Regions from separate parts of the Homo sapiens genome. Here regions 1, 3, 4 and 5 are each linked to region 2. Evidence: promoter capture Hi-C in 16 types of primary human blood cells and fetal thymus (Javierre and others, 2016). All regions are on one chromosome and are shown on one strand. Each heading gives the region's core, a stretch centred on a gene start or on the middle of the fragment in contact. The rest is flanking DNA. Distances are from core to core; before and after follow the strand shown.

The links. Contacts are between HindIII fragments. The CHiCAGO score rates a contact against its expected background, and 5 or more counts as called.
Region 1: a contact is called between a fragment that was not itself captured here and the fragment with the promoter of LPP-AS2 in region 2, in 5 of 17 cell types (neutrophils, M1 macrophages, activated CD4 T cells and 2 more). The highest score is 8.8, in neutrophils.
Region 3: a fragment that was not itself captured here is called in contact with the fragment with the promoter of LPP-AS2 in region 2 in 1 of 17 cell types (neutrophils); the score reaches 8.6 in neutrophils.
Region 4: a fragment that was not itself captured here is called in contact with the fragment with the promoter of LPP-AS2 in region 2 in 1 of 17 cell types (neutrophils); the score reaches 8.8 in neutrophils.
Region 5: a contact is called between a fragment that was not itself captured here and the fragment with the promoter of LPP-AS2 in region 2, in 1 of 17 cell types (neutrophils). The highest score is 6.1, in neutrophils.

Annotation. Positions count from the first base shown.
Region 1 is chr3:187,820,650-187,823,412 of GRCh38, forward strand. No RefSeq gene overlaps it. Among named protein-coding and RNA genes, the nearest start is that of BCL6, 77 kb to the left of the region's middle. The HindIII fragment of the contact is 2,084 bases long and covers 374-2,457 here.
Region 2 is chr3:188,152,556-188,155,453 of GRCh38, forward strand. LPP-AS2 (LPP antisense RNA 2) reads right to left here and starts at 1,533. Exons shown (of 1, transcript NR_036497.1): 1 at 1-1,533. LPP (LIM domain containing preferred translocation partner in lipoma) reads left to right here and starts at 1,602. Exons shown (of 12, transcript NM_001375462.1): 1 at 1,602-1,697. RefSeq lists enhancers at 137-1,037, 2,837-2,898 and a silencer at 1,470-1,809. The HindIII fragment of the contact is 6,292 bases long and covers 407-2,898 here.
Region 3 is chr3:187,839,194-187,842,218 of GRCh38, forward strand. All of the region lies in intron 2 of LOC105374264 (a long non-coding RNA gene), which reads right to left. Among named protein-coding and RNA genes, the nearest start is that of BCL6, 95 kb to the left of the region's middle. The HindIII fragment of the contact is 7,685 bases long and covers 1-3,025 here.
Region 4 is chr3:187,874,829-187,877,774 of GRCh38, forward strand. LOC105374264 (a long non-coding RNA gene) reads right to left here. Exons shown (of 3, transcript XR_924813.3): 2 at 2,179-2,294. Among named protein-coding and RNA genes, the nearest start is that of LINC01991, 100 kb to the right of the region's middle. The HindIII fragment of the contact is 8,295 bases long and covers 1-2,946 here.
Region 5 is chr3:187,896,254-187,899,229 of GRCh38, forward strand. LOC124906315 (a long non-coding RNA gene) reads left to right here and starts at 1,370. Exons shown (of 3, transcript XR_007096212.1): 1 at 1,370-2,051; 2 at 2,192-2,976. The HindIII fragment of the contact is 2,010 bases long and covers 447-2,456 here.

The sequences.
Region 1 (2,763 bases), core at 166-2,665, 330 kb before region 2:
ACTAACATATGCTGTATGTAGAAAATTACAGATTAGAAATTAAAAAGAAGAAAACTAATATAACTTTGAATTATATCATGCAGACATAATGATATTTATCAGTTTCCAGTCTTCTTTACAGAAATGTATACACACTGCCCATACTGCTGTTATAACTCACTATGATACATTGTGAACATATTATCATGTCAATATGCTAACAAGTACATAATTTTAAATAGCTTTCTAGTATGTGCCAGGCACAGTAATATGCAATTATGAGGAAGACATGGCCTGGTCTTCAGGGAACAACTGGGGAGAGCAGGAAAGAACAGAAGCTTTCTAAGCTCTGGTGTGGTGCTCTTTCTCCTGGTTTATTTTCATTACTAGGTAAAGCTTTACTCCTTAGCATTTTTGTTTTTACAGTCCCAGCACATTTAAATCCCAGTTTTCTTATCCTTGCCTTTAGGTTACAGTGTCCTATTCATTTACTTTTGATCCATGAACAATTGAGAGTTTTTAGTATTCAGTGAGTCCCTGTAATGGCATGGTAGAGCACAGTTCTCAGAAATTGTGGAAGAAGATCTTTCCAACAGCAGGTGCTGCCAGTGGTGCTACAGGTAGAAATGGATCCTGGCTTTTGGGGACAGTGGTCTTCCTTGTGCTTCAGTGTCCCTGTAGCAAGAAGGGGACTCTCATTTCCCAGAGAGCTTTCTGCTCCTTAACACCTGCTGTGATCTGTGCAGACATCTGTGAGGCAATTTGGGTTCTATAGAATAGGAAGGTTAGACTTAGGGAAACAAAGTATGCGACTGAGGCTCTGCCTAGAAGAGGCACAGCAGAGCCAGGATAAAGCACAGGCTTTGTGATGCCAGTACAGCACTCTTTCTATTCTTCCCCAGCTCCACTGAAGGCATGGCTGACTTGGCTGCAGAAGGTTGGTGGGTCAAAGAGACCAATGTTCTCTGTTCTTCACATGCACACACACATACACACACACCAGAAACATGTGTGAGTACCCTCACATGTAAACAGGCAATCTAACCAAAATGCTCCTAGGTATTCTGTAAGTGCTCCCCACCTGGAAGGATCTCTCTCGTCTTGTAGTTCTTGCACCACTGTTTGGTGTCTTGACCACCCACAGCAACAGGCCACCTCCAGACAAGCCAGGATCCCTTTCACTGGGATTTTCCAACTCTGCATCACATATACCCTGGAGGCATGCTCTCCCCAAGCAGGCAGGGTCAAGAGACTCAGTGTGATGAATCCCAGACAACAAATATACAGTGAGCACCTCTAACAAGCAAGATGCTGAGTTAGGCTGTAAAGAGAATTCTGCCATGATATAACATCTACCTGCTAGAAAGCACTCCATAACAACTAGAATAATATTATAACATTAGATATGTCTTGTAATTTATGATTCATAGGCATTGTCTCACCTGACCCCGACAACAGCCCTGTATGAGAGACATAGTCTTAATCACATTTAACAGATGAAGATGCAGAGGTTTAGAGAGGCTCACTGACTGGGCCTACATTAGATAGTGAATATTACACCTTGGACCTAAACTCCAGTTCTTCTGACTACAAAACCAATGTCCTCACCCTCTCAGACATCAACCTCAATATGTTATGGGATTCTCAGTTCTCAATGTGACCCATGAGGAGAGTTTGGTGAATGTCACTTAACAGGTGAGAAAACTGATCCAAGAGGTGAAGAGAATTAACCATGATCACCAGGGGCCTCTGGTTCCAAAACCTAGTGGTCCTTTCTCATCACTTGGTCCCTGCTGTGGAATAGCACCTCAGAGAGCAGGGGACTGTGAACAAAGAAAGAGTAACAAAGATTCAAAGCAGATTGTGTGTCCCTAAGGGGGCTGCAGAAAAACTCTTTGGGTACCTCTGCTTAGAAGCATCCTGGGGAGCCTCAGCCCCTGCCCAGCATGTAAGTGTAATGTGTGTTTTGAGGTCATGTCAACTTCCTGTTAGGTGTTGCTGTCTATGATCTTCCTTCTGGCCTAGGCCAGGATGCCATTTTTTGTGACCAAGCATAGAGTCCTGCTTTAGAATGCCCAACTGTTGTTCAACAGTGTGGTTTCTTTGAAGGAAATGTGATGAGAATAAGGTGGGGAGGAAGTTGGTAAGAGGGGACAGAAACAAGCACACATACTGGCATTGTCTGTTGCTTGATCTTGAAAAAAGTTATATGGCATTTTAGATGGATCCCAGCCTTGCTCCTTCCGCTATGTACACAGCAGAATCTCCCCTTATACTCCTCATTTTAGAGACTGGTGGGAAATGAAAGACAGGGAGACTAGTTAGGCGACTGTATTGCAGAAACCCAAATGAGATCCAATGGGGACTTGAAAGTGGCCTTAGGGTCAGGATATAGACGTATACTGAAGAACCACCCCAGAGGAAGACTCAACTAGTTGTACAGATTGGATGGTGGAGAGAAAGAAAGTGGAGGAGAGAAGCTTAGGATGGCCTCTGGTTTGCTTACTGAGGCATCCAGGCAGGTGAGCATGTTATGGACAGAGCTAAAGACTACAGACAAAGAGAAAGTTTGGAGAGAACACAATGAGCTTAATTTTTAATATATTGAGAGAGCACATCTGGACCATGTTCTTATGAAGGTGATTACGGGGAAAAGTGCTCAGAAATGAGGTCCTCCAACTCCACCCTAAAAATTCACAGACATTGCTACAACAACCATTAGTCACTGCAGGCCTAATCAGGAGAGATTTGGGAATGGGGAGCGGGAAAGAGTGGGCTGTGCTT
Region 2 (2,898 bases), core at 283-2,782:
GTGCTTGGTCAGTCAGTTGTTTTGTGTTGGGCGAGTAACGTTTCTTAAGTTTTTGTCTGAGGTGTAAAGGGGGGACTACGCTCTGTCCTATCTAACTCACCTGAAGATGCAATAGCCGGGTGAGAGACTGCTTTCATTATGTGCTAACGTGAGGGATTACTTTAGATATTAATAGGAGAGAAGTGCAAGGAAAGGAAGTCTCAGGGTATGGAATGCTTTCCTGGCCATGGCTGCTGCGCGTCATAATCCCCTAACACAGTTAAGTGGTGGTTCTCATCGTCGTTCACCCTTACAGATGTCAGAGGGGAAAGAAAAATCCAACTCAAAACTTCCAATGACAGGCTTGTCTGTATTCAAACCAGTTCATCTCGTTCGCAGACTTTTTTGAAGCTATAAGCACAGAGCAAGCTTTCTGGGCGGGGCTCAGAAGTAAACGTTAAACTCCAGGGATTCATTTATTTGAGCACAGGACAGAGGAAGTTGCCCTGAAGCAACTGATTGTCATTGATATTCAGGGCTCGCTGTCAACCAGGACCTTCCAGGAACTGGCTCTGGGCCAAGAGCAGTAGAAATCACTGGGTGGTCCGCACAGCTCGCGGGCATCTAACCTGCTTCAAGGCTCAGGGCTAAAAGGGAGCCAGGGCCCTTCCTGGAGGCGGGAACCCAAGTGGGAGGCAGAGCGCCTGGGCCCGCTCCTCGATCTGCTGAGTGACGACCCTGTACAAGTCATTTCTCTTCCGAGAGCTTCAGTTTCCTCACGTGCCAAGCGGACGGGTTGGAAGTTGGTCTTTGCCAGCTCTGACACCTTGTAAGTTTTGAGTCTTGCTGGGAATCCAGGGCGGGGCTCACGAGGAAAATCTTGGAAGGGGATTTCATGGCTGGATCTCTTCCACTCAAGCTCAGTGCCCTAATTTGACGCCTTAATAGTAGACGCAGGCTTTTCCATTTTCCAGGAGCCCCCTGACGCGGCCGCTTCCTCCTACGTCTCCTTCCTCTTCCTCTAGCAGGGGCAAAGTCTCCACATCTCCCTCTTTCTCTTCCTCCTTTGCAAGCTCCCTGCATTCCCGCGTCTCCTCCTCTTCCTCCCAGGAAATGCAATGCCCTCAGTGCGCCCACCTTTTGGCAAAGCCACTGCCGGCTGCGGGTTTCCCCTCCCCCGCCAGGCGAGCTCTGCGCGGCGGCTTCGCGGGCACACGCCTTCCCATACCTTACATGGACAAATGCGTGCAGGCAAAGTCAGGAATTCAGGCCCCTGACGTCAGCCTCCAGCGCTCAGGGCACCGCACGGGAGACCAAGGGGAGGGGGTGGGGACGGTGGGGAGGAAGGAGGGGGAAAGGCACCAACCAGCAGCCGCTCCAGCCCTGCCGAAGTTTCACTTTTTGTCTGTGGGTTCGTTCCCGGGTCCCGCGCGAGCTTTCCCGGGATAAGTAGCTTTAGCGATCGGGAGACAGCCGGGCGCTGCAAGGTAAGGGCTGGCTGCACGGCCCGGGGCGCGGGGCGTGGGGCGCTGGGCGCGGGCGGCGCGCTCGAGGAGGCCAGTGTGGGGCGCGGGGCCGGGCCTGTCCGGGGCTGGGGACAATGGGAGGGGGAGTGCCCGGGCACCTCCTCCTCTGCCTCTGCCTCCGCCTCCAGCCGCCGCCGCCGCCGCCGCCGCCGCCACCACCACCGCCGCTGCCCCGGCTGCCTCCTCCCTGAGGTATTGTTGCAAATCCTTCCTTCCCCTCACCCTCCACCCGCGGGCGCCTCGGGAACCCCCAGCCCTCCCCCGGCGCGAGCGCCTCCGGGGTGGCAAGAGCGCAGGGCGCGCGCCCTGCTCTGGCCTGGCCCGCTGTGCGGAAGTGCCGGCCGCGGCCCAATCACGGGGTGCACGCCATGGGGGAGGGGGACCCAGAGTTTTTCCAAAAGCGTCGACCCCAGGCTAGGCGGGGTTGGAGCCTTGCGCGCCCCCTGCCCGGACTTTTCTGGGCGCCCAGGGGGCGGGGCCACGCCCATCCGCTTAGAGCTTTCGCGGAATCACAGTTGTCACAGCGGAAAGGGCCTAGACCCAGTCCTCCAAGTCCTCCCATTTTACAGTTGGGGCAGCTGAGGCCCAGAGAGAAGGAGGGTCGCCCGGAAGTTATTTACTAGAGGCCAGACCATAATTCAAATAGTTGGCTCCGGACTTAAGTTCCCTTTCTCTAAGCATTTCTCTAGCACCCTGTGTGTGGCAGACCCTGTGCTGGGTGTATTGGACGTTGCCCTCAAGGAACTCAGTTGAACCTGGGAGTCAAACCTGGCCTAGGGTAGAAAATGCTAAGTGCTGGAGCAAAGGCGTGGACAAAGTTAAAGGAAGTTCCAGGGAGGGGGTTTGATTTTCTGGTCCCTGGGACGGCCTTTTGGAGAGTCCTGCACTGAATGGGGTTTTTGGAGGTTGAGGAGTTTCCTGAAGCCAGCTAGCGGCTTGGAGGAAGACATCTCTTCGAGGGAACCGTGGGCCAGAGAAGACTAAGTAGTGTGGGAAATGGAGATGAAAGTATAAATATTCTTTAGTTGGAGGCAAGGGGTTGGGGATGGGGGAGGTTGTGATATGAGATGAGCTAATCAGTGGAATTGTGCCTGGGTGCTTGGACAGGGCAGAGTCTTTGGAACCTCGGAGTCGTAGGAGAACTGAAAAATCTCTCTGGCTTCCCTTCCCTTAGAAGGGATCCACTGCTTTCCCTCCCCCAACACAAAACAACTAGCGAGAACTCAGGGTCTTCTCTGGGGCTTTTGCTAGTACCAAACTCACTTAACTGTGTTTCCAGTCCCCTTTCTCTTTCCATTCCTTCCCCTTTTACTAAATCTCTTGCCTTTCCTGTAAAATTCACTCTCACTAAGGTGTTGATGACTTAATGGCTTACCTTTCCCTGCACATGTGC
Region 3 (3,025 bases), core at 345-2,844, 310 kb before region 2:
AAGCTGATGTGAAAACTTAAAAGGGAAGCAACTAATCCCATCTCCCTAGTAGTAGAAAGAGGGGAAGGGTTTAGTGAAGACTTTATCTATTCTGATATTAAAATTAAATTAAAACACACCTACAGTGATACAGTATGAGCATTAGCAGCTCTCATGGGCTTGTTTTCTGGATTTCTCATTTCCCAGCTGACTGGCTTTGAACTGTTTTCTACTCCTCAGCTTTCTCAGAATAGCACCTACCTTCTAGAATTGTCAACAGTGTCCAGCACGTAGTAAGAAGTCAATAAATGTTAGATGGCATTGTTTTTAGTAAAATTTCTAAAGGCAGCAAAGGAAAGCAAGGGTGTTCCAAGCAGAGGGAACAGCCTGAGCCAGGTCTTGTGGTAAGAAAGTTTCCAGAGAAGATGACTAGCCCTATGTGTTTGTACAGTTGAGTGTGTGGGTCATCACGGAATGGGGCAGGTACGGTGATGATTGGAGGTGTGGCTAAAGAAGTAGGTCACTGATATTGGAAGCCTAAGAAATCCTATCTCGGTAGATCAAAGATTTCCAAAGTGCAGTGTGCGCTCTCAGAAGGGTGTGCAAATCATAATGAATTTTCATTCAGGTTTACTTTTATTTTTTAAAAGGGAAAAGTTTAAAAGTACTATTATTTCATATACAGATTGAATATGGGATCCTTGTTAGATCCCTGTTCACACAGTTTCTTGCCACATGTCCAACTAAGGCTATTCTGAGGGAGGGGTCGAAATTTTATGCCCTAGAGGGTCTGCAAGGTACCCACAACACCATTCTTAATTATCTAGTTTCATGGGTTTATGGATTTTTATACAGATTTAACTGAATAAAAAGTCACATAATAGACCAGTGATTTTTAAAAGATTTCTGTAAAGAACTTGTGGATTGAGAATAGCACTTATAACGAACACAAGCAAACGACAAGAAAATGGCAGAGCTGACTTTTCTCCTATCCTAGCTTTCCTTTAGCCACATTTTGGGGAGGATAAAACTAATGATGACCTGATCATATATATCAAACAGTAAACAAAAAAAATTCAAATTTTCAGGAAGAGTGCTTCAAGTATGGATTTACATTCACTATTATTAATGGTGAGCCCTGTCTAAGGTGTGGATTATGCCCTGAGACAGTAGAAAAGATAGTAAGATGTCATTAAGAATAGCATGCATTTGAAAATAGTCTTCATTTCATGTTCATATCTTCTGTTATACTTCCCAGTTTTAATTTGTTATTATAAAGTGCATAATCTATTGGCATGGCTCTACACACAGGCACACACATGTACCATAAATCTATCGAGGTGCACATGCCAGTCTTCTTCAGCACTAGGGTTACATATTTAGAGAAGTTTGAAGATTGCTGATTTAGGTCCTGGGAAACTGTTATTTGGAGGTTCTTGAGCAGTAGGAGACATGATCGAAGCTGTGTTTGAGGGTAATAAATTTCATCACAACTCCCCCCACCCCGCCCCCAGGGAAAAAAAAAAAAAAGCATTGCACAAAGAATACAGAGAAGTGGAGTCTGGAAGAGAGCTGTTAAACAGCTCGGCTCCTTCTCTTCCAGAAATGTTGTTTTCTCTTCCTTCCTAAGGACCACTGACCTCCTCCAACGACCAGCAAGAACTAGTGAGATATATTCCACCAGCCAGGCCTTCTGTGGCTGCCTGCATAGGAAGAAGACTGCCTAAAAATATTCCTTAACTAATTTCCTCTCCTCTAGGTTTCTTGCTCTATTACAAGCCAAGTCTAAGGATCCTCAGCTTTCACTTGCTATTTGAGATTATGGGGTTTGTCTTGTGATGCAGACATTCCAAGTTTACCTGTTTACAGAAGGCAGACTTCCAGAGTAGCCGGAGGCATGGGCTCTAGAGTCAGACAACCTATCTTCAAATTCCAGCTCTATCAGGCACTACTACGCTCACCATGGGCTACTTTCTTTCTGCCACAGGTTCCTCATCTGTAAAGTGGGAATAATCATCCTATCTGTGTGGCAGTTGGTAAGAAGTAAATAAGATAATGAGTGTATGTAATCCCAGCACTTTGGGAGGCCAAGTCGGGCGGATCTTGAGGTCAGGAGATTGAGACCATCCTGGCTAACACGGTGAAACCCCATCTCTACTAAAAATACAAAAAATTAGCCGGGCGTGGTGGCAGGCACCTCTAGTCCCAGATACTTGGGAGGCTGAGGCAAGAGAATGGCTTGAACCCGGGAGGTGGAGCTTGCAGTGAGCCGAGATGGAGCCACTGCACTCCAGGCTAGGCGACAGAGCGAGACTCTGTCTCAAACAAAACAAAACAAAACAAAACAAAACAAAACAAAACAAAACAAAAAAAGATAATGCGCGTAAAAGACAGAGTTAATTCCTGGCATAGAAAAAATTCCCAAGGAATGTGAATTCATATCATTACAAAGGAATGAACTGAGGCATGGTCTGAAGGGCCTAGGGCAGAAAAAGGGAAGGAGGCTTCCAGGAATGCAGATCCTTTAATCTCTTTAAAGCAATATCCAAACAGAAGTCTAAGTCTCTATGGACGCTGGCATGCTCAAGGATGCCAGTGAAGGGGGCAGAGATGGCTGCCTCTGAGTCACCCTCCCTCCTTGACTCATCTGCCACCTCTGTTATCTCTGGCTATTGCCACAGTTTCTCATGAGAAATTATGAAATAAATGGCCTGCATGGTAATGCCTGGGTGAATAGGTGAACCTCGGGCATGTGGCCAACTCTCCATTCATTTTAAACATCCTTGGGTTTAGTGAACTCTAGATGATTACATCTCTTTTATCAAAAGACAAAATTACAACAAATTTAGTTTAAAGATCTCAGTTGGCTTCATTTGCAATTCTAGAATCCGGCAACACTCCATTCCGTACAATGAAGTAAGTGTCCCAGTGAACGGAGCAGAAGAGGTTTGCTTTATAGACAGAGAAGGGCTGAAGAAAGCAGGAGCAAAGTACAAAGACTATTAGTTCCTTTTAGACAGAACAGGAGAAAAATAACTGATTAATT
Region 4 (2,946 bases), core at 276-2,775, 280 kb before region 2:
GTTATACCCAACGTGTCACAGATAATAAATGGGCAAAGGATTGTGCTTTAGTTTGCTGCTACATTGTAAAAGGAATAGTGCTTCCTTAATGGTATGTATTTTGTCTCTTATTGAGAATCACATGACTTTAAATATTGCTGAAAATTTTATAAAGGCTTGTCGTCATGTTTAGGATGTCTTACTCATCATCGCGGCCTCCTCTCATCATTCCGTTTCTCATGACAAAATATACATTTACATTGTAAACAACGATGGATACAAATCCGTTTTCAAAATATCTTCTGGACAGGTTATTTTGTCCTTTGTTGACTTCCTGTCAGCTCAGGTTAGATGATAATTGCTTTTATCTTGTCACATGGCTGGCAGAGTTTTTACCAGGAGTAGAAAGGGTTAACTCTGCCATTTCCTTGTTGTCTGGTTGTGTTTGCAACGTAAGTATTATCTTCAATCTACTGTTTGCAGAGGTTTTCTTTTTCTTCTTTTTTTTGAGACAGAGTGTCCCTGTGTCTCCCAGGCTGGAGTGCAGTGGCGCGATCTCAGCTCACTGCAAGCTCCGCCTCCCGGGTTCACACCATTCTCCTGCCTCAGCCTCCCGAGTAGCTAGGACTACAGGTATTCGCCACCACGACTGGCTAATTTTTTTTTTTTTGGATTTTTAGTAGAGACGGAGTTTCACCATGTTAGCCAGGATGGTCTCGATCTCCTGACCTTGTGATCCACCTGCCTCGGCCTCCCAAAGTGCTGGGATTACAGGCGTGAGCCACCGCGCCGGGCCTGCTTGCAGAGGTTTTTTAAGGCAGAAATCATTTTAACTCACTGAAGTCCATTTTGAAAGATTAGGTTAATGGAAACTGGATAACATCATCCATAGATCCGCTTGATGGGGCTCTTGTAAACTGATGAATGTGACGATACACTGAGAGTTCAAGAAAAAATAAATGTAGATTGCCACATGGTTCAACTCCTCTTCTCAGGTGAGAGGTATTTCTCAGGTGTCATAAAGCATGCAATTGTCAAATGCACATACAAACAGCAATATAGGCAGTAGTGCCCGTGCACTTATTAAACATTCATTCAGTTGTCTTTCTTTTCTAAATTTAAAATATAAACAATTCTTGGTGGTTATGTAATTCTACACATGCAAAAAAGTTGCATAGAAGCACACACACACAAATAAGTGCATATAAATACGGGAAATACAAACAGACTCTGGCTTGTACTGATGTCCATTTCCTTGTTTTAACAAGACTGCAGTTATGCAAGATGCTACCACAGAGGAAAAGTAGGTGAAGGGTGCAGTGAGACCTCTCCATTTTCTTTCGGCAGCTTCTTGTGAAGTCTATAATCATTTCAAAAATTACATAAATAGAAGTTCTAACATCCTGGCATCCCAGTAGATTCGCTGCACCTCCAGGAGACTGCACCCTGTTGGAGCCATGGCCTTGGTTCACCGTGAGACCTGGAGGGAGGCATTTCCACTCTTGAGGCTAATTTCCCTCATCTGTAAAATGCACAGTTTGGCCCAAAGCTCCACTCAGCTCTAAAATTCTAGGATTGTATATGCACAGTTTGGTGTAGGGAGGTGTAAATCTCACTCAGATTATGAGCCAGCTCTAGGTGGTGAAGGGAAATGTGCTCAGCTGTTTGATATAAAGTCTGCTTTCCTGGAAAATGAACTTGGAGCCATTTACCTCTTCCCATTGGCTCCTTCAAAGGGTTTTCTGACTAAGGAAACACAGAAAGTTTGAAAATATTTTCATCAAATACCTTGAAAACAGCATCACCAAAACCAAATAAAAGGAAAAGGTAACATTACTTGCTGAAGATGATGACCTCTCTACTGAACCTTCAGAGTTGATTTAGAGCACATGGAAGCTATTCTCTGCTTCCCTGACCTGTTTAGGCTGCTCAAAATGCTAGGTGCAGAGGAAAACACCCTTTTGGCAGCCAAGATGGAAGAGATATAAGTGGATTTGTAGTAAGAGTCTGGGCCTGCAGAAATTTGTGTCACCCTGACACTGAAGAGGGAAAGTTGATTGTTCTCCAATGCACAGCAATTAAAAGCTCATCTCTGGAGAAAGTCGGGAGGCAGGGGTTACATATATATATATATGTATTTTCACATCTGCAGACAATTTTTTAACCCTGGTAACTGATTGATTGGGATAATGTATTTACCTTGGATATGGAAAGCAGGAAGAACAGTTCTTGCGTGACTTTCAAGGTAGTCTATACCTTCAAGTGTTTTCAGCTATGTATCTTCTTTTGATCTTCTCTATTTTCTTGGATTTATCCTACAAAAATAACCACATGTTAATGAAAAGATAAATATATAAGTTTGCTTACTGCCACAGTGTTTGAACTTTAAAAGTCTGGAAACAATTTAAATGTCCAACAATAGAGGACTAGCGAAATTATGCCAGTGGTTTTAAACTTGACTAATGAATCAATAAAATAAGAAGAAATGACATAAGATTGACATCTTTAATTTTGTGTAATAAACATTTAAAAATACTAGTAAATAAAAATACTATTGTCCCATCAAATAAAGGATATTTTGACACCGAAAGTAAAGGGAATCCCATCACAATAAAAGGCCTCACCAGAGAAAAGATCATTGGCAAACCATGCCAACATATGAGAGTAGAGCAAGAGGGTCCTTAATGCAAAAAATGGCAAAATCTGAATAGAGTGTATAGATTAACATTAATATTGTATCAATGTTAACTTCATAATTTTGCTAATTATACTGTGGTCGTGTTAAAAGAATATCCTTGTTTTTAGGAAATACACCCTGAAGTATTTAGGAGTAAAAGGATATCATGTCTACAGCATACTCACAGACAGTTCAGAGAAAAAAAAAAAACCCTTCTATATATTTGTAGAAAAAGAACGATAAAGCAAGTGTGGTAAAAATGTTAACATTAGGGGAATATGGGGGAAGAG
Region 5 (2,976 bases), core at 202-2,701, 260 kb before region 2:
AAAAAAAAAAAGACTTAAAATCTCTCTTGGGGCCAGATACAGAAAGCATTTTCCTCACCTGTTTTCTTTTCAAAACAGTAGAAAAACTGTTTTTAAAGAAGGGCAATTAAAGTAGACTAGCCCTGAATGATTTTTCTAATTGTTACAGAAAATCTGATGGTTTTCTTACCTTGAAGTCATGTGTACTAGGTCTTCCAATTCTCTCTGAAGGGGAAGCCACATGGCTTCCTAGATCCTTAAGAAAGGATAACCCTTATTGATAAGCCTCTGTTTATGACATGACTTGCCCAGGGTCACACAGAAAGGCAGCAGTAGAGACAAAAATTACATACAGATTGCCTGTCTCGCAGTTTCCCTTCCCTGTTGTTGGAGGAACGTAATGAGGGTAAGAAAGGAAGGGGTCTCCAGAGAGATGTAATGGCTATTTCTAAGCCATTTTTAAAATAAGCTTCAGATGATCAAAAGTTCGAGGTCAGAGGATAATTTAGGCCATCAGAAGTTGGCCAGATTGGAGTTAGGTCCTCTAGAGAATTCTGTCCTTTGGCAGTCAAAGACAGTGATGGACGCCAAGCCAGGCCTGTGATTTGGGCACAGGTCCAGGCTCTAGCCCCCTCTGGAGCCGGGCTCGGATCTTCACAAGGAGCTCTGCAGCAAGCAGGGTCTGTGCTTGAACATACGCTTTTAATCAGAGTCGCTGGAACCTGGATGGGGCCTCAAACATAATTTAATTCAGTCCTCTCACTTTGCAGATGTAGAAATTGAAGGCCAGATTGAAGGGTGGGCTATGGAATGCTTGCACAAGGTCATCTGTCAATTTAGGGAACAGCATGGTAAGGTGAAAAGGGATCGCTTTGGTGTCATTGCTGGGTTCCAAATCCCCGCTCTGCCGCGTATTAGCTAAGAGACCCCAGGTAAGTCACTTGACCTCCCTGACTATCAATGTCCCAGTGTGTAAAGTCGGGACCATAATTACAATGCCTGAATCACTGGATTGCTATCATTAAATAAGATGAAAAATAAGAAAGTGATTTGTAAACAGGAAGTCACTTTTCATACCACAATGTTAATATTAAATTATAATAAAACCCAACCCAATAAAAGCAGTCCACTTTTCTGAATGCCCACCACATGCCAAGTGCCAAGTACTTCACATACCTTGTTTCTTTTAATTCACACAATGAATGACCCGAGGAGAACGCTCAACTAACAACCATGTACTTGAACCAGGGGTTTAAATCAGTCATACACACAGCAGGATTTAAATACTATCTTCCACATGGTACCTTCAGAAACGTGGGCCTGGGATTTCATTCATGGGATACACATGGCTCCCCCCCCCGTACCCCCTGCCCCCTCTGTATTGAGTGGGTGGCTCTCACCTGTGGAGGGCAGGGTGCTCTCATGTTTGTTTATACCAGAACATAGAATAGAACTTGGTAAAGGTAAATGCTCATTTAAGAAATAAAAATACATCAAATAAAGTAAAAAGCAACCTGGTAGATAGCATTTCCTTTTCATTTTTTTAAAATAGCTTTATCGAAGGATAATTGAATGGAAATGGTCATTAATATATATCCAGAATCTATTAACGTTCGGCTAAGTTGGGGGGAACATAGGGATGTTTTAAGGCAACTAAGCGATTTAGAAAACTTAAGTTCTTTAATGTTTTCAAAGAAAAGGTTGAGTCTGTAAGATATAATCTGGCAATTTGTATAGAACTCTTTCTACTAGCTTCCAGGAATCCCTGCTCTGTGAGCTTTTTGCCAAACTGATTGATCTTCCCAGACATAATCTGGGGACCTTCTCTAATATGCCCCTGTCCCGCTGTCAGCTTAATACACTCTTTTGCTAAGTAATAGGGTATTGCTAGTGTTCTTCCAGGTTCTCTTCATAAAGGCGCTTCTCTGTCAATAAGAGACTGTGTTTATATTCTTGTGCACAAATAACTGGCCCTCTTCTCAGTGTTTGAGATCCCTCATCTTGCTCCGACTGTTGCAGCCTTTTCTCGCCATGACAGACTGCCATACTACATGGCCTTCTCCCATCGAAAGGTGAGGTCAAGTCTCCTTCCTCTGAATCTGGGTGGGGTTGTGACTCACTTTCAATCATTCTAATATAGAGTAAGTGATGTTGTGTGATCTCTGAAGGTATGTCATAAAGAAAATGATGCCATTGCCTCCTTGTTCTCTAGGGTCTAGCATGTGGACCACTGAACTGCCAAGGAAGCAGTCCAACTGCCCTGAGGCTGCCATGCTGTGAGGAAACCCAAAGTGGTCCATAAAGAAGGATTATGTGGAGGGACCCTGAAAGATGCCTGGCCTGCCTCCCACTGCTCCAGTACCCTCCTCCCCAACTCTTCCAGCTTCAGCCACTGTCTGCAACCACATGAGAGCTCCCGAGCCATAAATGCCCAGCCTAGTCTCCCCTAAGTTTCTAACCCACAGTTTAAACTACTAAGCTTGGGTTGCTTTGTTATGCCTCAATAGCAACTGGGACATGCCCCTTTCTCCATTCTGCTGCTGAATCTGGTTACAGCAGCAGAGACACATGCCAGGGGCATCTCTAGTAACAGGGGAAAGCCCTTTGGGAGTAGATTCAAAGTGGGGGGTCAAGACAAATTATTCAGCGAGCCTGACTTTTAGAACTCAAGGGGCACCAAGTAAGTGCATGATCCTGAGGCAATCAATTCCTCTCGTTTTCCTTTTTTTGTAAAGGGATGAACTAGACACAGTGTGGAAAGCCAGCTTTACCACATTCTCCTACGATCTTCTGAAGTTACCTAATCTCTCTAACCCCAGATTCCTCTTCTGTAAAATGGGGATAATAGCCACAAAAATAGAACAGTAGTGTAAAATTAGATAGTATGTGTGGAAAAGTAGAGTCTTGAAACTTGACTTAAGTGGTTGATGAATGTTAGCCCCCTCCACCAATGCCTTCCCCTTGCATTCTAATATTCTCTGCTCCTCTGAGCAAATT